4 separate regions of the Homo sapiens genome follow, and all the other regions are linked to region 2. Evidence: promoter capture Hi-C in 16 types of primary human blood cells and fetal thymus (Javierre and others, 2016). All regions are on one chromosome and are shown on one strand. The core of a region is centred on a gene start or on the middle of the fragment in contact, and the rest is flanking DNA. Distances in the headings are between cores, read along the strand shown. Region 1 overlaps RAP1GDS1 (Rap1 GTPase-GDP dissociation stimulator 1). Region 2 holds the start of DAPP1 (dual adaptor of phosphotyrosine and 3-phosphoinositides 1). Region 3 has its middle 190 kb from the start of RAP1GDS1. Region 4 overlaps TSPAN5-DT (TSPAN5 divergent transcript).

What was found. Contacts are between HindIII fragments. The CHiCAGO score rates a contact against its expected background, and 5 or more counts as called.
Region 1: a contact is called between a fragment that was not itself captured here and the fragment with the promoter of DAPP1 in region 2, in 1 of 17 cell types (total B cells). The highest score is 5.5, in total B cells.
Region 3: a fragment that was not itself captured here is called in contact with the fragment with the promoter of DAPP1 in region 2 in 1 of 17 cell types (naive B cells); the score reaches 7.7 in naive B cells.
Region 4: a contact is called between a fragment that was not itself captured here and the fragment with the promoter of DAPP1 in region 2, in 1 of 17 cell types (naive B cells). The highest score is 5.8, in naive B cells.

The regions. Positions count from the first base shown.
Region 1 is chr4:98,289,417-98,292,116 of GRCh38, reverse strand. All of the region lies in intron 1 of RAP1GDS1 (Rap1 GTPase-GDP dissociation stimulator 1), which reads right to left. Among named protein-coding and RNA genes, the nearest start is that of RAP1GDS1, 29 kb to the right of the region's middle. The HindIII fragment of the contact is 1,603 bases long and covers 566-2,168 here.
Region 2 is chr4:99,815,503-99,818,202 of GRCh38, reverse strand. It overlaps DAPP1 (dual adaptor of phosphotyrosine and 3-phosphoinositides 1), which reads right to left and starts at 1,376. Exons shown (of 9, transcript NM_014395.3): 1 at 1,189-1,376. The coding sequence starts at 1,289. The HindIII fragment of the contact is 961 bases long and covers 772-1,732 here.
Region 3 is chr4:98,446,005-98,448,704 of GRCh38, reverse strand. No RefSeq gene overlaps it. Among named protein-coding and RNA genes, the nearest start is that of RAP1GDS1, 190 kb to the right of the region's middle. The HindIII fragment of the contact is 5,004 bases long and covers 1-2,700 here.
Region 4 is chr4:98,661,130-98,663,829 of GRCh38, reverse strand. It overlaps TSPAN5-DT (TSPAN5 divergent transcript), which reads right to left. Exons shown (of 3, transcript NR_148380.1): 3 at 1-840. All of the region lies in intron 1 of LOC112267901 (a long non-coding RNA gene), which reads right to left. Among named protein-coding and RNA genes, the nearest start is that of TSPAN5-DT, 3.6 kb to the right of the region's middle. The HindIII fragment of the contact is 4,440 bases long and covers 1-2,700 here.

The DNA.
Region 1 (2,700 bases), core at 118-2,617, 1.5 Mb after region 2:
TCTCCATAATGTGGTTCAACAGAAGATGACTGGACTCTCGTATCTTCTTCTGTATTCAATCTTGGTTAATATGCTGTTTTGGTTTGAATAGATGAAGAAAATTTAGTCTCAATATATACGTAGTTGGAAAACACGTGAGTATTTTAACAGCCTTTTCAGATAATTGCGGATATTCACTGATATACTAAAACTGGACACCTGGCAGTTCCTTAAAGGTTAGTTGCCCTGCTAAGCCGAAACAATATGAAAGCTTCCATTTTCCAGAAGAGGAAAGATTTATCTGATTTATCTGATTAAGGCTGAGGACTACTGGACATGTATGGCTCAACCCCTTCTGCATTCCTGTTATTTTAGAAACAACAAGAATTTTCTGTTCTACACCTGTGGCTGTCCAGGTGTACAGTGACAAAATGAGTAAATATGTATAATTCAGCAGTAAATTACTAGTAATCCCATTGTGACTCTACAAATAGAGGCCTTAACTCTAGACTTTATTAATTTTAAAGCAGATATTTTAAATTCTAGCAGACGACTCATATGCTTATATCTCCAGTGGTTCTAAGCTTGGGTAAGAAACAGAGGATATTATTTTTGTACTCCTTCAAACCATGACAGTAAATTTCAGTAGTAAATCCTTAGCATCCAAATTACTTTTTGTGTAATTCCAGAGAGCTGTATTTTACATTTCCTTAAAAGCACTGAAATTGTTCTAATGAAAATTTGTCAGCCTCTGGCTGGTAATGAGGCAGTAAGTAGAGATAGAAATGGAGAAGTATTAACAAATAAAATAAAATTTTTTCTTAAAACAATTTCTTTCCTATATATCAACATATGGTCTAGTTCGTCTTGTGAAATATGTGACATCTTCAAAGGGTTAAAGCAAAGTTGACTTGGTCATTAAAATTCTGAGTCTCCCACTTCTTACCCACTCAATCGCTCCTTAAAACCTGATCTAACCAAGTCCTCTAAAAGCCTATCAAAATTACTCTGTCAAAGGTTTTAAATGATATCTTGACAAAGCCAATGAATTTTTCTCAATCCTCTTGTTTGATATCTCTGTAGCAATAGACAGTTTTTCCATTTCTGAAACACCTCTTAACTTAGAAACATCAGTCTAAACACTTGTTTTTGGTCTTCTTCAATAGATCTTCCTTCTCTATCTGCCCCTTTAATATTAGTGTGACCCCAGTTGTGCACAGAGCCTCTTCTCTTCCTGAATAATATATGCATGCCCTTCAGAATATTAGGATGGTATGCTCTTTCCTTCTGTCCTCCCTTCTTTTATTCAGCTGGACAGACCACTTGCTTTATGTCCCTATCAATATAAAGAATTACCACATTTTAGGCCTTGATACATTTGGATAAAACCTGATGCAACTTCTGGTAACCGTGAACAGCTAACTATCATTCCTCGCATTTCTCAAAAGTCTCTGTTAAAGACAAACAGCTATACTTTCCCACTAAAACCTTCAAACTTTGCCAAGCCTTTTTTTTCTTTTATCTTAGGCACCAGAGGCTCTTTATGCTCCAACCTCTCTTCTATAAACCAGAAACAAATTATTTACTGGTCTGTAAGTACTTGCTGCAATGGAAGAGTTTTCATAAGACCTAAATTTTTAGCTATCAGTTCCTTTCTTAACATCAATCTAAGAAAAACTAATGAGGAAAGTGATGCTGTTTTAATATTTAAATAATTTGACCATAAAAGTACTTAAGATCATCACCAACAACAAAGAATACACTTGACTGTGAAGAAAGGACTGTCCCAAAGAACAAATCTCAAGACAGTGTCATGTTAAACTAGGAAGTCATGAAATTCTTTATGTTATTTGTGGTGGCATTTTTCAGTTTATCTTCCTCACAATATTATTCAGAAATGGTAGCTTTATTTTCAAGGTTATTGGATCTAAAACTTCATACTTTTAAATGTTAATCAATTCTATCACTTTACTATATGCCAGTAAGTAGATACATGGGTATATAGATAGATATGTGTTTGTTATCTTTGGACAATTATACCATTGCTGATGATAAAACCGACAGGAGACAAGTACACAAGAACTGCTAACTGAGCTTGTAAAAGTTCAAGACATTTTTACCTCACTTCAAATGTCACTCAATTTTTTTCTGTATCTATTATTTTCACATAACTATCTAGTAACAAAGCTTTACTTTGAAAGCATCACTATCCACATCAAATCCAAAAAAAAAAATATTTCTGTGCTAATGTGGTTTTCAAGTACCTAGAATACAGCCAATGCATGAATGGAAGAATTTCAAGTTTATCTCAAAATGAATGGCATTAAGTCAATTTGGGGCACCTGGCTTAGCAGCTGGAAATAATAGCAATCTCTCTTGAATATTATGTTTTACTTATCTAAAGGGTTTAGTATCTGACAGAATGAAGCTATTTTTAAAAGCTTCTCTAATGAAGTAGGAATAGTAGTTTCTGTTAGCATGTCAAGTGGAAAGGACTGTGTTTAAAAATTATAATATTTTCAGTTTTACTATGTTGTATTTTCAGTTTCCTACTTTTCTTTCTTTTTTTTTTTTTTTTTTTTTGTTTACCAGAGCTGGTCCTAAACCGATCAGAAACTTTTACAACTCACATTATGCCATCTCCCATTACTTTCTCACACAACATCATGTGTGTCAGTCCCACCACATTATTGGCTTTTTCCCAAGCACACTTTCATTTTC
Region 2 (2,700 bases), core at 127-2,626:
TTCTTTAATGAAAATTCCAGGTGTTTTATCTGATTTGCCAAATGAAAGTAGAGTTCAATTCCGAGACCTCAGTTTTATAATCTAAAGACAGGAATTATTAATAAACTTTTACAGTAATACAACATAAAAAGATACAATCTCTGCAGCCTTAACACAGAGAGATTTCAACTCTATTTTGGTTTTTCTTTGGTTTCGGACATAGCCTGTGGTAGGTTGGATGCCCAGCTTTGCTATGTAATTGATGTGTGACTAGCAAGCAAGTTATTCAAACCTGTTTGGTACTTGTTTTCATCCTTTGTAAGATGAAGATGACAACAGCTCCTATGTCATTGGATTGCTATGAAGAGTTAGAGCTATTTGTCCAGGCAGAAGGTAAAGGTTTTGCCTCTCCTCATGCACAGGTGTCAAAGCCACCTTCATTGGGATATTCCCAGTGCATTAGGCAGTTTCTCTGGGAAATCCCCAATTCCTCTCTTGTGTAATACTTGTTTCTTATTAAATACCCGGATGAGTTGTCATCTGGGTCCCTTCTTAAAGACAGAGCTCCAATGACTCCACCTACCTATGCTTACCTGTTTGAAGCAGAAATTTTATCCTCTTCCTGGATTGTTGGTACTGAAAGGCTCAAAGTTGGCTCTCTGGACATACATACGATATCAAATCTCACAAATGCAGTATCAGGAGAAAGAAATATACAAGCGAGACTGTTGCAGGAACTTCCTCATTCTCTGTCTTTTGAAAAAGTCCCTCTCCCTTACAGTAGGGTAAGCTTTCTGTTTATCTTACCAGAAACACAGTCCTTTTACTGTCCCTGGGTCAGTGCTAGAAACTCTTGAACAGCGCATTTATTCATAAACCAGAGCAACATCAAGGAAGCCAGGCAACATCACCTCTATATCCCAATTCTGTCCCTCTTCTCAAAGAATGTCCAACATTTGATTTTTTTCCCTATTTTCTCAACCAACTTGTTTTCACATCTAGAAAAATAATGCCTGCTTTTCCAATGGAATTAGCCCCAGACAAGAAGATACTTAACAGATACAAATGAATAAAGTGGAAAAAAATAAATGGTTGAGGTGGCAGAGGGCAACAAGGCACTGAAGATAGTCATTAATCAAAGCATGCAGGTGGGAGTGCGGAGTCAATGTCCACCCACTAGGTACTTTGAAAGGAGATCTGCTGCCTTACCCCAAGTCCTGGAGCAGCTCAGCCTCTCCATCGGATCTGCTCCACAGATCTGAGGGATCCTGGGTGCTCATCTTCCCTTCTAGAAGTTCTGCTCTGCCCATTCGCGCCCTTCACAGAGGTAGAGAGAGAGACACAACTGGGCTGCTCCTGACACCTTCTCGCTCTGTGAGACAGCAGCCTGCTATGGCTCTGAGTCTCCAAGGCAAGGAAGTGAAACTTGGTTACTTACTCCTCCCACCAACACCACCACCCTGGCCTGGAGGCACTGGCAGGAGTGTTCTGTCAGTCAGGAAGTATGCAAACTTAGGTAGCTACCTCTGAGGACACCCACACTACATCACGCAACAGGCGGTTGCTATCAAAGGAAATGAAGAGGCAACCACCCCACCTGGGATTGGACAACAGTGCAAACTGCTTGTGTGAGGCCAAACCCTAGCTTCTCCCTAATGCTATCAGCCTCTGGTTTGTAGTGGAGGATGCGTGCACTCTTTTACCCCATCTTCTTTCTGTCTTACACACCAACACAGGGAACACTGAGGAAGCTTCTCTATCAGGAACACCTTTAGAGTGGATAGAAAAAGCAGAAGCAAACCACAAATTCGACCCTGAAGTTTGATGTTTTAGCACTTTTGCAATATTTCTGCTTGTTTACCCAGACCTTCTAATATATCCTCAATGCTCCGAATAGGGATGATTCAGAGACAATTATTGTTTCCTCCACAGAAAAAGAATTAGGAGAGGAGAAGGTAGGAAAAAGTTACAAGGGGCCATTCTGGTGCCCACCTAATGGGGCATATTAGAACTCCTGGAGTCTTTTTTTTTTTTTTTTTTTGAGACAGTCTCGCTCTGTCACTCAGTCTGGAGTGTAATGGCATGACCTGAGATCACTGCAACCTCCACCTCCCAGGGTTCAAGTGATTCTTCTGCCTCAGCCTCCCAAGTAGCTGGTATTACAGGCACCCGTCATCATGCTCTGCTAATTTTTGTGTTTTTATAGAGACAGGGTTTCACCCTCAGGTGATACACTCACCTCGGCCTCCCAAAGTGCTGGGCTTATAGGCATGAGCCACTGCACCTGGCCTGAACTCCTAGAGTCTTTGAGTGCCACTTCCTTCATGGGCTTACTCACACCTGCATGGCTTTGTGCCCAGATTCATATGTAGAGCAGGATTCTATCTGCCTGGAATGCTAAAGGTAAATTGCAGTGACTGAATCCTTGGGAAGTGGAACAAAGTGCAGTATCAAATGAGTCAAGGACATATGTTGCTTCCTGCCTTTTCTATGTACCTACAGGTCTCTCTCTCCCTCTCCCTTTCTCTCTCTCTCTTCCTATCTCTACTCCCTGACTCATTCAGCACTCACCACAGTGCTCTGTAACTTGTTCTCACAGTGTGGCCTGAGGACTAAACAGCACAGCAGAACTGTTCCTAAAGGACTAGATGATTGCAAAAGGCTGCTGTGCAATGGTTCTATCCTTCATCTTCCTCCCTATTACCACTGTTCACCCGGGAT
Region 3 (2,700 bases), core at 32-2,531, 1.4 Mb after region 2:
AGAGAAATGGATTTTTATGCAAAATCACTTACATTTTAAATGTTTAAAGCTATTCATTTTTTCTCCTTTTCTTCTTCCTTTTTTTTTTTTTTAAAAAATACCAGGCCGGACGCGGTGACTCACGCCTGTAATCCCAGCACTTTGGGAGGCTGAGGCGGGCGGATCACAAGGTCAGGAGATTGAGACCATCCTGGCTAACACGGTGAAACCATGTCTCTACTAAAAATACAAAAAATTAGCTGGGCGTGGTGGCGGGCACCTGTAGTCCCAGCTACTCAGGAGGCTGAGGCAGGAGAATGGCGTGAACCCGGGAAGCAGAGCTTGCAGCAAGCTGAGATGGCACCACTGCACTCCAGCCTGGGTGACAGAACAAGACTCCATCTCAAAACAAAACAAAACAAAAAACAACAACCATGTGGCCCAAACAACATGTGTGAGGGCCCCTAGTTTGTTTGCCATCCCTAGTCTATAGAGGAAGAAACAGATTGGCCAGGTGATAGAATCATGAAGAGCATGAAGAGTGTTTAATGATGACTCTTGTGGAAGAAGAGGCCCTCCACTCCTTCCCTCCCCTCTCCATGTGAGTGGTGCCTGGAGAGTGTTGATCAGCTTGGAAGAAATCAGAGTGGTGGTTCACAGGTTTGTTTAGAGGCGCAAATATGTTGCTAGCAGTTGATGGCAGTGCTAAGAGGTGATTAGACTCCAATCAGCTAAACATCAGTTCCATAGGTACTTGTAGGTATGCTCTATACCTCTTCTGATACACTCTGAACGCACTCTGATACATTTGGTAATGGGGCGGTGGTAGATGTTGCGTGGGTGTAAGTGATGTAACGCTTGGATGCCCAGGAGGAGGTGCTGTTGTGGGTTCCCTCGGGAGAGTGGGGAGGGCTTGGTTGGAGCAGAGTGTTCAAGAGGTGATGAAAAGTAAGGGTGTATCAGGAAGGGTTGCACAGAGGCTGGGCAGGGCAGCTCTGCCTCACTGAGAAATTTGATCAGGATCTCTGAGGAAGAAAGGATTGGGGCTTTGATTTAAGAATTAGGGGCAGAAAATAGAGGGACTGGCAAGTCAGATAGTTTTTAATTGAGGAACTACCCTAGCATCTGAAAACACACACAACCTAGCATTTGGGGTTTGTTTTTTAAAAGTCAGAATATATCTTGAATGTCTAGATGCAGGAAAAGGTTAAGATTCTGGTACAGCCATATAATTAAAGAACATGGGGGTATGGTGGCTCATGCCTATAATTCCAGCACTTTGGGAGGATCGCTTGAGTCTGGAAATTCAAGGCTAGCCTGGGCAACAAAGCAAGACTTCATCTCTGCAACATTTAAAAAAAAAAATAGCCGGGCATAGTAGTGATGCCTGTGGTCCCAGCTACTAGGGAAGCTGAGGTGTATCAGTTGAGCCCAGCAGGTTGCGGCTGTGGTGAGTCAAGATTGCGCCACTGCACTCCAGCCTGTGCAAGACCTCATCTCAAAACCACAAAGAACACAACAAAGAACAAAAAATAGGCAGCCATTAAAAAAGAGGTTTATAAAAACTTGAGTTGTTAGTAACATGAGAAATTCTTAAGTGGGGGGAAAAAAGGATATAGCTACACATGGCACAATGCTTCAACCATGTAAATACACCCTGGGCAACTGCTGTGGGCAAGCATGCCAGAAGGTCATTCTGAAACTTTGCATCAGACATTAGGCACAGGTATAACAAAGCATGCTTTCTATGAACTAACTGTCAGATCATATTATAACACAAATGCGAGGCCGTTCTCTCATTAACAGGAAATGAATTTTTGTCAGATGGTTTTCTCAGGTCAGTGAACATCTTGTTCTCACTTGTTGTGGCTTAGGGGAAGTCACTGTGTTTCACAATCACGATAGGGTAACAAGAGGACAAGAAATAGGCGAGTGGGAAGCAAAGGAATTAATAGTTATTACTTTGGGATATGATGAATCTACATGGACACTCTGCTGTGTTACTTCCTCTAACTTCTGCTGGGTACTAGGGGATGAGGCTGTGTGGGTGAAAAGAGCAGAATATGATTCATTAACACCTCTTCTACTTTTCTTACCTACACAAAAAAGGAAGTCATGGTAGGAGAAGCATGGTAGAGAGTGGGTTGCATTCTGGAAACTTGAGAAAAGGGAGGGTGGGGCAACGGAACTGTCTACCTACCGATAGTTGGCTTTAGCCGAAATTAGGAACTATTTTGGGTTCCTCCAAAGATGGGTCTGAAGTCAAAGCTCCTCTGGTTAATATTTCCTCACATCATCTTAGAATTGGATTCAATCATCCCTTCCTTCCTAAGTTCTAAGTGTTTTAGGTATCTGTCTGACATGCCTATGCTAGACATCAAGGAACTAAGCACCAAGATGCTGAGCAGAACCTCCCTGAAGGGAGGTCAAGGTCAGAGGTGCTGACCTTCTCTGGTCCTCCTGCTAGTGGACCAGAGAAGACCACCAGACCAAGAGAGCAAAGGTCAGAAGAACCGCAGGCAGCAGTACCTACCTGGCTTGTTTTGTTTGATAATTTGGTTCCAATATATAAAAATGAATTGTCATCATATTAAGTTCCTGTCTAGTGTTATAAATAGGAGACAGATGTGTATTGTCCATTTTCAAAGTGTTAGGGAGAATCTCTGTGGCTACAGCTAAAAAGCTCAATTTCATTAAAAATTTTATTTTTATTTTGGGACA
Region 4 (2,700 bases), core at 80-2,579, 1.2 Mb after region 2:
GCCTGCACTTCAGCTGGGCGCAGGGTTCCCTTTGTTACTGAGACAGACTCTCAGGTTGGCCCAGCCTGAATCTACCGGGACCCCATCAACTGTGAAGTACAAACCTCGCTGGAGGTGGGAGAGCACCTTGTGGTTGAGAAGGTCTGAGAAAGGGGTGGGTGTGATCTGTCAGACACCCTAAAATGTTTCCCTGTATTGTTTGAGACAGAAACAGCTAGGGAAGAGAGGGGGTGGTGGGTGTGGGGAATAGAAAAAACGTGGTACTAAGAGAAATGCAGAAATGCTGGTGGTGATTCAAGAGGAGAAAATCAATAAAGGCTTGGGGCAGAACCTCAAAAGGTGTTTAAGTCAGGATACTTTCAGTTGTATGAAACGGAAAACCCCTGTCAAAGTATCTTAACCAAGAAATTTGTCTCATCTGACAGGAAGTCGTGAGTAAGGCCACCTTCAAGGTTGGTTAAGTCAGCCATACAACAAAGGCTGGAAGGCCCTGGTTCTTTTTATCCTTCCACTCTGCCATCCTTGGTGTGGTCTTTGTCATCAGGCTGTAGAGGATCGAGGCATCACATCCAAACCCAACCAAGTCCAAGGGCGAAAGAGACCATTTCTTAGATGCAAGGAAACCTCTAGCAGATTCTTCTCATGGCTTGTTGACCAGAATTGGGCCACCTGCCCATTCCTGAACCACACATTAGCAAGAGGAATGGGACTGCCAGATGTGACGCAGAGGGCCAGTCTTCCCAGAGCATGTGGCTGCTTTAAGAGGGGGACGCTGAACACAGCTGCTAGGGTTCTGAGAGGAAGGCGGCAGGAGGGGTGTGGAGGCAACCAGCAGGGCGGCTACAGAGAAGCAAAAGAAAAACAGAGAGGAGCAGAGAGGCAGACAATGACAGAGCCCAAGAGGAGGGAGGCAGGAAGGTGGGCAGGAACAATAAAGCACAGGTGGAGACAGACAAGCTCGTTAAGTTTGGTGTCTTAGGTTAAAACGCTGTTGTCATATCTTGCTCCTCAGCCAGGCAACTATTAGAAGAACACGCTTTACCTGTTTTCACTGCCACTTGAAGAGCTGATTAACTTGTCAGTAGTTAAACTTATTAACCATTTTTCAACCTCAGAGTTATAAGGGAGGTGGCCTTAGCAGTATTCAGACAGAAAATTTTTCTCCTTTTCTCCTTAAAATAGATCAGCATTTATTGAGTTGTGAAGGAGTTGCGTGAAATAAATATGATTACTTAGTTACTTTCTTACATCTTTATGTATAATTTTATCTTCTTAATTGTAAAAGCAATTTAACCACACTTAAAAATTGCAAACCAGAAACATGAAAACAAAATCACCCAGCCTTATAACTGTTCTTATTTGGCAAAAATTAACTCCTAACTTTTTTTCATACAACTGCATACCGTTTTGTAGACTGCTTTATTTTTCAAAACGTGTATCATATACATGGTACAAATTTCAAAAACAGACTAAAGGGGTTATTTAAAAATAAAACATGTCTCCTTCCTATCAGTATCTTTAGTCCCCCAGTTTGCCCCCCATTCCACCCTAACTCGCTGTTACCAGTTTATTTCGTTTTCTTCCATAGATAGCCTACCCATTAACAAGGAAATATGTGTATGGATATTCTTTTGCCAACAGAGCTTATCTTTTCACAAAATGATAGCCTACTGTGTACACTGTTTTTGTTCCTTGTTTTTAAAATTTAACAATATTACTTGGAGATAATTCCATATATAGTGCCTTTAAAATTTAACATTATAATGTATCCATATATTGCCACATACTCTATAAGCAGTATCTTCAAGAGCTGTAAAAACTGTGAGCAAATGACTCATTCATTCCTTTAATAAATATTTATCAAGCACCTGCCATATCTGCAGAGCTCTGGTGATTCTAAGATTACCAAGGGTTAGGTCACACCCTAGAAGGAGTCACAGCAGATTGAGGAGACAGGTAGGTAAACAAGTTCTTACAGGCAGCCTTTAAGTGCCGGGATGGAAGAACACAGCGGGTGTTGAGGGAATAAAGAAGGAGCCTCCGAGACATTGAACAAAAGTAGTGAAGAATAAGAGAAATCAGCTCACAGACAAGAGACAAGGAGAATGCCCCAGGCAGAAACTCTAAATGACATGTGCAGAGGCACAGAATGTGAAGGAACATTGTGGTCCAAGTAACTACAAGGAATTGGATATCACCCCTACTCTTTGATCTTTAATTTCTGGCCAAGTCTTCAATATAAATAATGCTATGATATACATCTTGCAGTGTATAACTTTTTCCATCTGCTGGGGTATTTCTTTGGGTAGATTCCCAGAAGAGGGACTGCTGAGTCAAAATGTAGGAGCACTCTGACCTGATATATACAGCCAAAATGCTTTCCAAATGGACATATTATTTCATAAGGACACCAACAATGTATGTGCTAACCAGTGCTCATTATTTTTGTATCTTTATTAGTTTTAATGTATACTTCATTTATTACTAGATTAATTTCCCCATATATTTTATTTCTTATATGATTTATTTTCTGTTTATACTCAACCACTGCGATTCTATATTTTACTATAGCTCTATGAGCCCTACTTATAATATAGACATTCAGGTTTTTATTTTTCATGTTTGCTGCCAATTTTTTTTCTGGTTTAGCTTACACTAAAAAAAGCTGGACACGTAGAAGTGTTTAAGATATTACCCAAT